Linked DNA regions of Homo sapiens: region 1 is linked to region 2. The links are contacts of gene promoters, found by promoter capture Hi-C in blood cells and fetal thymus (Javierre and others, 2016). All regions are on one chromosome and are shown on one strand. The core of a region is centred on a gene start or on the middle of the fragment in contact, and the rest is flanking DNA. Distances in the headings are between cores, read along the strand shown. Region 1 has its middle 14 kb from the start of MIR99B. Region 2 holds the start of SIGLEC12 (sialic acid binding Ig like lectin 12).

Region 1 (3,049 bases), core at 163-2,662, 180 kb after region 2:
GGACACAGTAGAACTGGTTCCTCTTCCTTATTCCACCTAATCACACACCTATGCAATTTTTTGCTTCCTAAATTTGCAACTTTGGAGTGGGTGGCTTTGCGAGTCCTAGTGTTTCAAGGAGAAACACTTCCACTAAAGGACCCAGTTATGGTTTCAAGTGGAAGGAGAGGCTGCCTCTTGGCCATTTTGGGCAAGTCATGATGCTAAACCATCAGGCAGAGAAGGAGGTACCTTTACTAAGCTAGTAAAGGTACCAATTGATCCAATTATTAGGAGAAAAATATGTTGTTGCTATACAGTGCAATCAAGGAGAATTAGGAGTGGAACCGAGACTATTCCGTCGGGAGGCTTTTTATACTCTGTCCAGAATAATGGTCAATGGATAACTGCAGCAGTGCAATAAAGACGAAGCATTAATGACTTGGATCCTTTGGGTCACTCTACCAGATAAAAAATTCCAAGGAAACGAAGTGCTAGAGGAAGGTAAGAGAGACACAAAATGGTTATCAATTTAGGCTTTATGACCAGCTATAGAAGCAGGAACTGCAGCTATTATGTTTTATGGTAACTAATTGTTTCTTTCCCACTTCAATTTCACTCTGATATCTTACATGAAGAGCACTTTTCATGGCTGTTGTTACAATTTCAGTTTCAGAAGTATAGCAGGAATGACTTCCCTCTGCAGTAATAGTAGAACTAATACTGGGCATCTCTGTGTTAAGGATGTGAGCTTGTTCATCCAAACAAAAGAACGTAATGGGTGCTCAGTGACAACAGGGATGACCTGTGCCTCTTCAGATCCATCATTCACTTGTCTCTGCTCATTTCTGTGCACTGACAGGCTGACCTCTCAGGACCGCATCATCAGCTTCCCCTTGCCAGTGGGAGGCACTGTCCGGAGATTGAAGGGTGGGAGGAAAGAAGTCAGGGTTTTTATTCCTCCTGTTCTCTCCCTACAGTTCTGGCCGTGGCTGCATTCCTCTGTGCTACAAGTCCTATAAGGCAGCCCATCCTCCAAGGCTACTGCCCTTGCCCCATCAGGTCTAGGCTGGTACCCGTTTCCCACTGCTGCTTGTCCTTGGATGCTGCACCATCTCTTTTTGGACCTCTTAATCCTGCCTACATCTCTATTTAGTCCCTTCATTGGCCTATGTTTATTATTTATTTATTCATTTATTTATTTATTTTGAGACGGAGTCTTGCTCTGTCACCCAGGCTGGAGTGCAGTGACGCGATCTCGACTCACTGCAACCTCCATCTCCCGGGTTCAAGCAATTCTCCTGCCTCAGCCTCCTGAGTAGCTGGGACTACAGGCGTAAGCCACCGCTCCTGGCCACTTTTTGTATTTTTAGTAGAGACAGAGTTTCACCATGTTGGCCAGGCTGGTCTGGAACTCCTGATCTCAAGTGATCCGCCTGCCTTGGCCTCCCAAAGTGCTAGGATTACAGACGTGAGCCACCGTGTCCGGCCAAGTCTATGTTTAATTAAGCTCTTGAATGAGCCATCAGCTTCCTATTCGAATCCTGATGGATACATCCATATATTTACCACCTGTTTCCTCCTCGTACCTCAGACCTTCTACCTGGGATCATTTTCATTCTATGATCAAAGTACATCCATGAAGGAGGGTTTCAGTTTGCTTTTACCATATGCCATAGTACCAGTTTGGTGCCACTTTTACTTTTGTTCCTTTCCTCTCAGGAGACTGTTGAAAACTACAGCTCATTTTTATAATCAGAATAAGCCTATGCTCATCAGTCAAAAGCAGGTTTGAATGCTCTGCTTAGTTCTTGGAGTTCTCACTTTCTAAATTTTAGCTAGGAAATTCCTCACTAGATTGTCTTTCCATTATTTTATAAAGATTGTTTTGAGTATTTTATCCGCCACTTTTAATGACTTTCAGCAGAGGAGTTGATCCATATAGCCTGGACTGCCATTCTCAAAAATGAGAAAGTTCTCCCCTCTCTTAGGTTTTTTTGTTTTCCCATAAGATTTTTGCATTTGCTTGCTATTTCACGTAGGCTGTTGGGAAGAATGTCTCCTGAAATCTTGGATGAGAAATATGACAATAGAGAAAGACAATTCACTTTCAAGATATCAAAATACTATTCATATAACAGAAAAACAAAAAAGTATTAATATTAGCCATCTATTGTTACCTAGGGAATTATTCCAAAACTGAGCATCTTGATACACACTTATCTTACAGTTTCTGTGGTCAGGAATCTGAGCACAGCTTAGCTTGGTCCTTGGCTTACGGTTTCTCACTAGGTTGAAATCAAGATGTTGACTCAGGGTCTTCATCCTCATCTGAAGGCTCTACTGGGGAATGACCCACTTCCAAGTTTATTCATTGGCTTTTGGCAACATGCAGTTCCTCACAGGGTATTGGAATGAGAGCCTCAGTTCCTTTCTAGCTGTTGGCAGGGGCTTCCCTCAGTTCCTTACCTCATGAGTCTTTCAAAAATGGCAGCTCAGAATATAGCCACTTACTTGATTAATACATGAAAATCAGAAAGGCAGTAGAGTTTGCTAGCAAGACAGAAGTCACACAGTTTTTTGTAATCTAATATTGGAAATGACATTCCATCACTTTTGCCATATACCATTAGTTATAAGTAAGTCACTAAGTTCATCCTTTGGGGAGGAGGTTACACAAACACATGAATATCAGGAAGTGGAGATCATTGGGAGATATTTTAGAAGGCTGACAACCCCGCAAAAATAATTTCTGAATTTCCATCTGTATCTCAGCATTCAATAGCTATGCACCTGTTTCAGCACATTGGCAGGAGCAAAACAATAGCAAAGTGTTTACAGCATGTATCGTGTGAAATACATCCACTCTCAAAGCACCTTCGTTTGGCTATTTCTTCAGTAGGTTCATCAAATAAACCACTTTTTTTCAAGCAACTCTCAGTTATCAGTACGTCCTGCTGGGTGGGTATTGTCATCTGCAGAGTACAGTATCGGCTTTTTGTTTAAGTATTGCTTTGAACATGGAAGAGCTGCTTTGTCATCCTGTTTAAAAACCTCATAGGCATGCAAT
Region 2 (3,090 bases), core at 353-2,852:
TGGGGGTAAAGGACACTGCAGGGCACAGAGACACACAGACCCTCCTGCACAGTCACCGACTCTGGCACCTCCAGCCTGTATCTTGACAGTAGGTCCTGGGACGCTGTGGAGAAACGAGGGTCAGCCCAGCCCCCACTGTCCCTCTCTTCATTTGCCCATAGCAGGGGCAGCAGCATCTCTGAGGCAGAGGCTTCCTGGGCTCCCTGTGTGAGCAGAGAAGGGGGAGGGAGAGGAGGGGCAGGGCTGTGGGACCCACAGGGGGCTGGAGAGGAGCTGGAGACCTCAGCCCTGCATGGAAGAGAAACTGCAAACCCACATGCTATAGGAACTCATTCCCTCTGCACAGAGTGAAGGAAACCCTAAAGCTCAGAGACCCTAGAGACCCACCCAGGGAGGAGAAGAGACCGTGTCCCGCCTCCTACCTCCGGGCTTCCCTGAAGCACCAGGGCCTGCACCAGACACGTAGGTCCTGCCCTCCCGGCCTCTGGACCATCGTGGAGGTCCCTCCTGTCTTTTGAGCATCTAAATGTGGATCTCCGAGGACCTCGGGGCATGAGAGATGGAGGGGCCGTGTGCTGAGTCTCCCTGTCCAGGCTCAGGTGCCTCTGCTGCCCTTGGTTTGCGCCAGGAAGTGCTTCCTCCCTGGCCTGGCCTGAGAGAGTCACGGGGTTGTGTAGACCTAAGGCTCTCAACTGGGGAGGACTTAACCCCCCAGGACGTTTGACAATGTGTGGAGATAATTGTCTCGCTGCATGGGTGGGGTGGGTGCTTCTGGCATCTGGTGGGGAGAGGCCTGGGATGGTGCTAAACCCCGGCCATGCCTAGGACAGGCCCCAAAACAAGGAGTCATAAGGCCCCACATGCCACAGTGCCAGCGTCAGAGGCAGGATGAGGATGTCAGGCCTGTGGGTCAGGGCTGGTGAGGGGAGGGGCTTGCAGGATCAGGAGGGGCATCCAAGGTGCGGTCCTGGGGAAGCTCAGGCTCTGGTCCAGCTCCTCCCCTGAGTCCATCACCCCCGGCCCCCTCCCAGGACATGTGTCCCGTCTCAGCCGTGCCCTAAAGCCCTCATCACATTTGCCTTTGGCCTCTCTTGGAGCCCGTGCCTTACCTGTCACATTCACAGAGAGCTGGTCATATTTATAATTCCATTTCATATTTCCTCTCTCTACACAAAAGACGTATGTCCCTGCATCACTCTCTCTGGTGTCTCTGATGCTCAGGGTACAATCCTTGTTCTGTGGGTCCCCAAGGAGGTGGAATCGGTCCCGAGTCTCCTCCTGCACTGCTCGAGCTGGGTTGTTTGTGGCCACTGGAATGTTCCGGCTTACATGGTCCCCTGCCCGGAACCAGTAGCCATGAACTGGATCGGAGGCAGTCCAGCCATTTTGGGGGTAGGAGAAGGAGCAAAGCACAGAGACACACAGGCCCTCCTGCACCGTCACGGACTTCTGCATTGTCAGCAGGTAATCCTTCTGTTCCTTAGCCCCCACTCTCCCACAGAGCAGGGGTGGCAGCAGTAGCAGCAGCAGTAGCATGTGTCGGGTTGGAGGTGCCAGGGTTGCTGAGGTAAGTCTGTTCCTCAGGGTTCTTCTCTCAGGAACTGAGAACTCAAGATTTCGAGGAAGCCGCACAGGAAGTTGGGGGTGGGTTCTGAACGGTGACCTCACAGGAGGAACTTCACACACAGACACTGTCAGGGCCGGGTCACCCCTGGAAGATCCACCGTCCACTACCCCGTCCACTCCTGGGGACCCTGAGGCCAGAGAGGATGAAAGACTCACCCAGATTCCAACCCCATGCAGGGCCCACCCCGCCCACTGCCTCCCTCTCAGTGCCCTTCCCCTTGGGTGATATTTTCCATAAGGTGAAAATGAGTCCCATGTGGCCAGACCTATGAAGTACAGGCTGTGGATGTCTCTCTGTAGGTCAGAGGTGACACTAGGATATAAGAGATGGGGGTGCAGGTGGGATGAGCAGGCAACCTCTCCTTCCTCCCTCAGCGGCCGTGAGGTGGAGTTCAACACAGCAGAGCTAGACACTGTCCCCAAAGAGTCACTGTGTAGTGGGGAGACACTGAGGCTCCTGATATCTGAGCTCTCCATGGCAGGAGCTTCAGTGGGGGTACCAGGCAGGGTGTGGTCGCTCTCTCCTATGTTGGGGAATCAGTCTCGGGAGGACTGAGCAGAGAGACACGGGGTCGTGGAGGTGAGGATTCCGTGTGTTGATACACACCAAAGACACAGAGAAGAGCCCAGTTCACAGGAGGCCTGAGAAGCTAAGGCTGTGACTGTTGTACAGTGAGGTCTGGAAGGGAGGAATGTTGGATGGGAAGGGACAGATTTCTAAAGGGGCAGGCGTTTCTCTCTCGGCCATGGCTCTCTGGGTTCAGGATGGGATCCTTCACCACTGCTCTCTCACAAGTCCTCCTTACTCCAGAGCATGAGGGGTCTGCTGGCCCTTTGTTCCTGCAGGCTCTGCTCCCAGGGTTTCAGGTGAACAGGAGACGTGGAGCGAGGACACCAGCCCTGGCGTGTCCACGCTCAATGATGGACAGGATTTCATGGGAGAAGAAATGCACCTGAATTCAGCAGAAGAGTTTTTGAAACTGTATGCTATGTACTGGGAGGAAGGTGGGGAAAATCCTGCAAGATTCGCCCTCCTTAGACCCATGTCAGCTTTTCTTGAAACAATGATTTTTGGGGAAATGTAATACAAGTAAATAAAAGTGCCACCTAAAAAAATGACTCAGTGATTTTCACCAAATTATCACTGTTCAAGAAATAGAACATCACAAGATAATTGCCAAATTTCTCCCATGAGATGAAGAAAGAAATTGCATTCATTTATTCAGCCCTGTGTTTCCCCTTCCTATAGGCCACATGCAGTTCCTCCTGAAGATGCCCCAGCCTCACTTTAATGATAATGGTCTCCTTGCTTTTCTATGTAGTTTTATCATCTGAGTGCACTGCCTTCAATACTATGGCTTTGCATAGGTTTTTCTAAAGACTATTTTTACATAAAAACCACAATCTGTTTTATTTTACTCAGCTCCATGGATCTTCCCATCCCCATGTTGTCCCCAATTGCCC

The links. Contacts are between HindIII fragments. The CHiCAGO score rates a contact against its expected background, and 5 or more counts as called.
Region 1: a fragment that was not itself captured here is called in contact with the fragment with the promoter of SIGLEC12 in region 2 in 1 of 17 cell types (monocytes); the score reaches 7.4 in monocytes.

What each region holds. Positions count from the first base shown.
Region 1 is chr19:51,677,074-51,680,122 of GRCh38, forward strand. No RefSeq gene overlaps it. Among named protein-coding and RNA genes, the nearest start is that of MIR99B, 14 kb to the right of the region's middle. The HindIII fragment of the contact is 6,463 bases long and covers 1-3,049 here.
Region 2 is chr19:51,500,198-51,503,287 of GRCh38, forward strand. SIGLEC12 (sialic acid binding Ig like lectin 12) reads right to left here and starts at 1,603. Exons shown (of 8, transcript NM_053003.4): 1 at 1,110-1,603; 2 at 1-103. The coding sequence starts at 1,536. The HindIII fragment of the contact is 28,149 bases long and covers 1-3,090 here.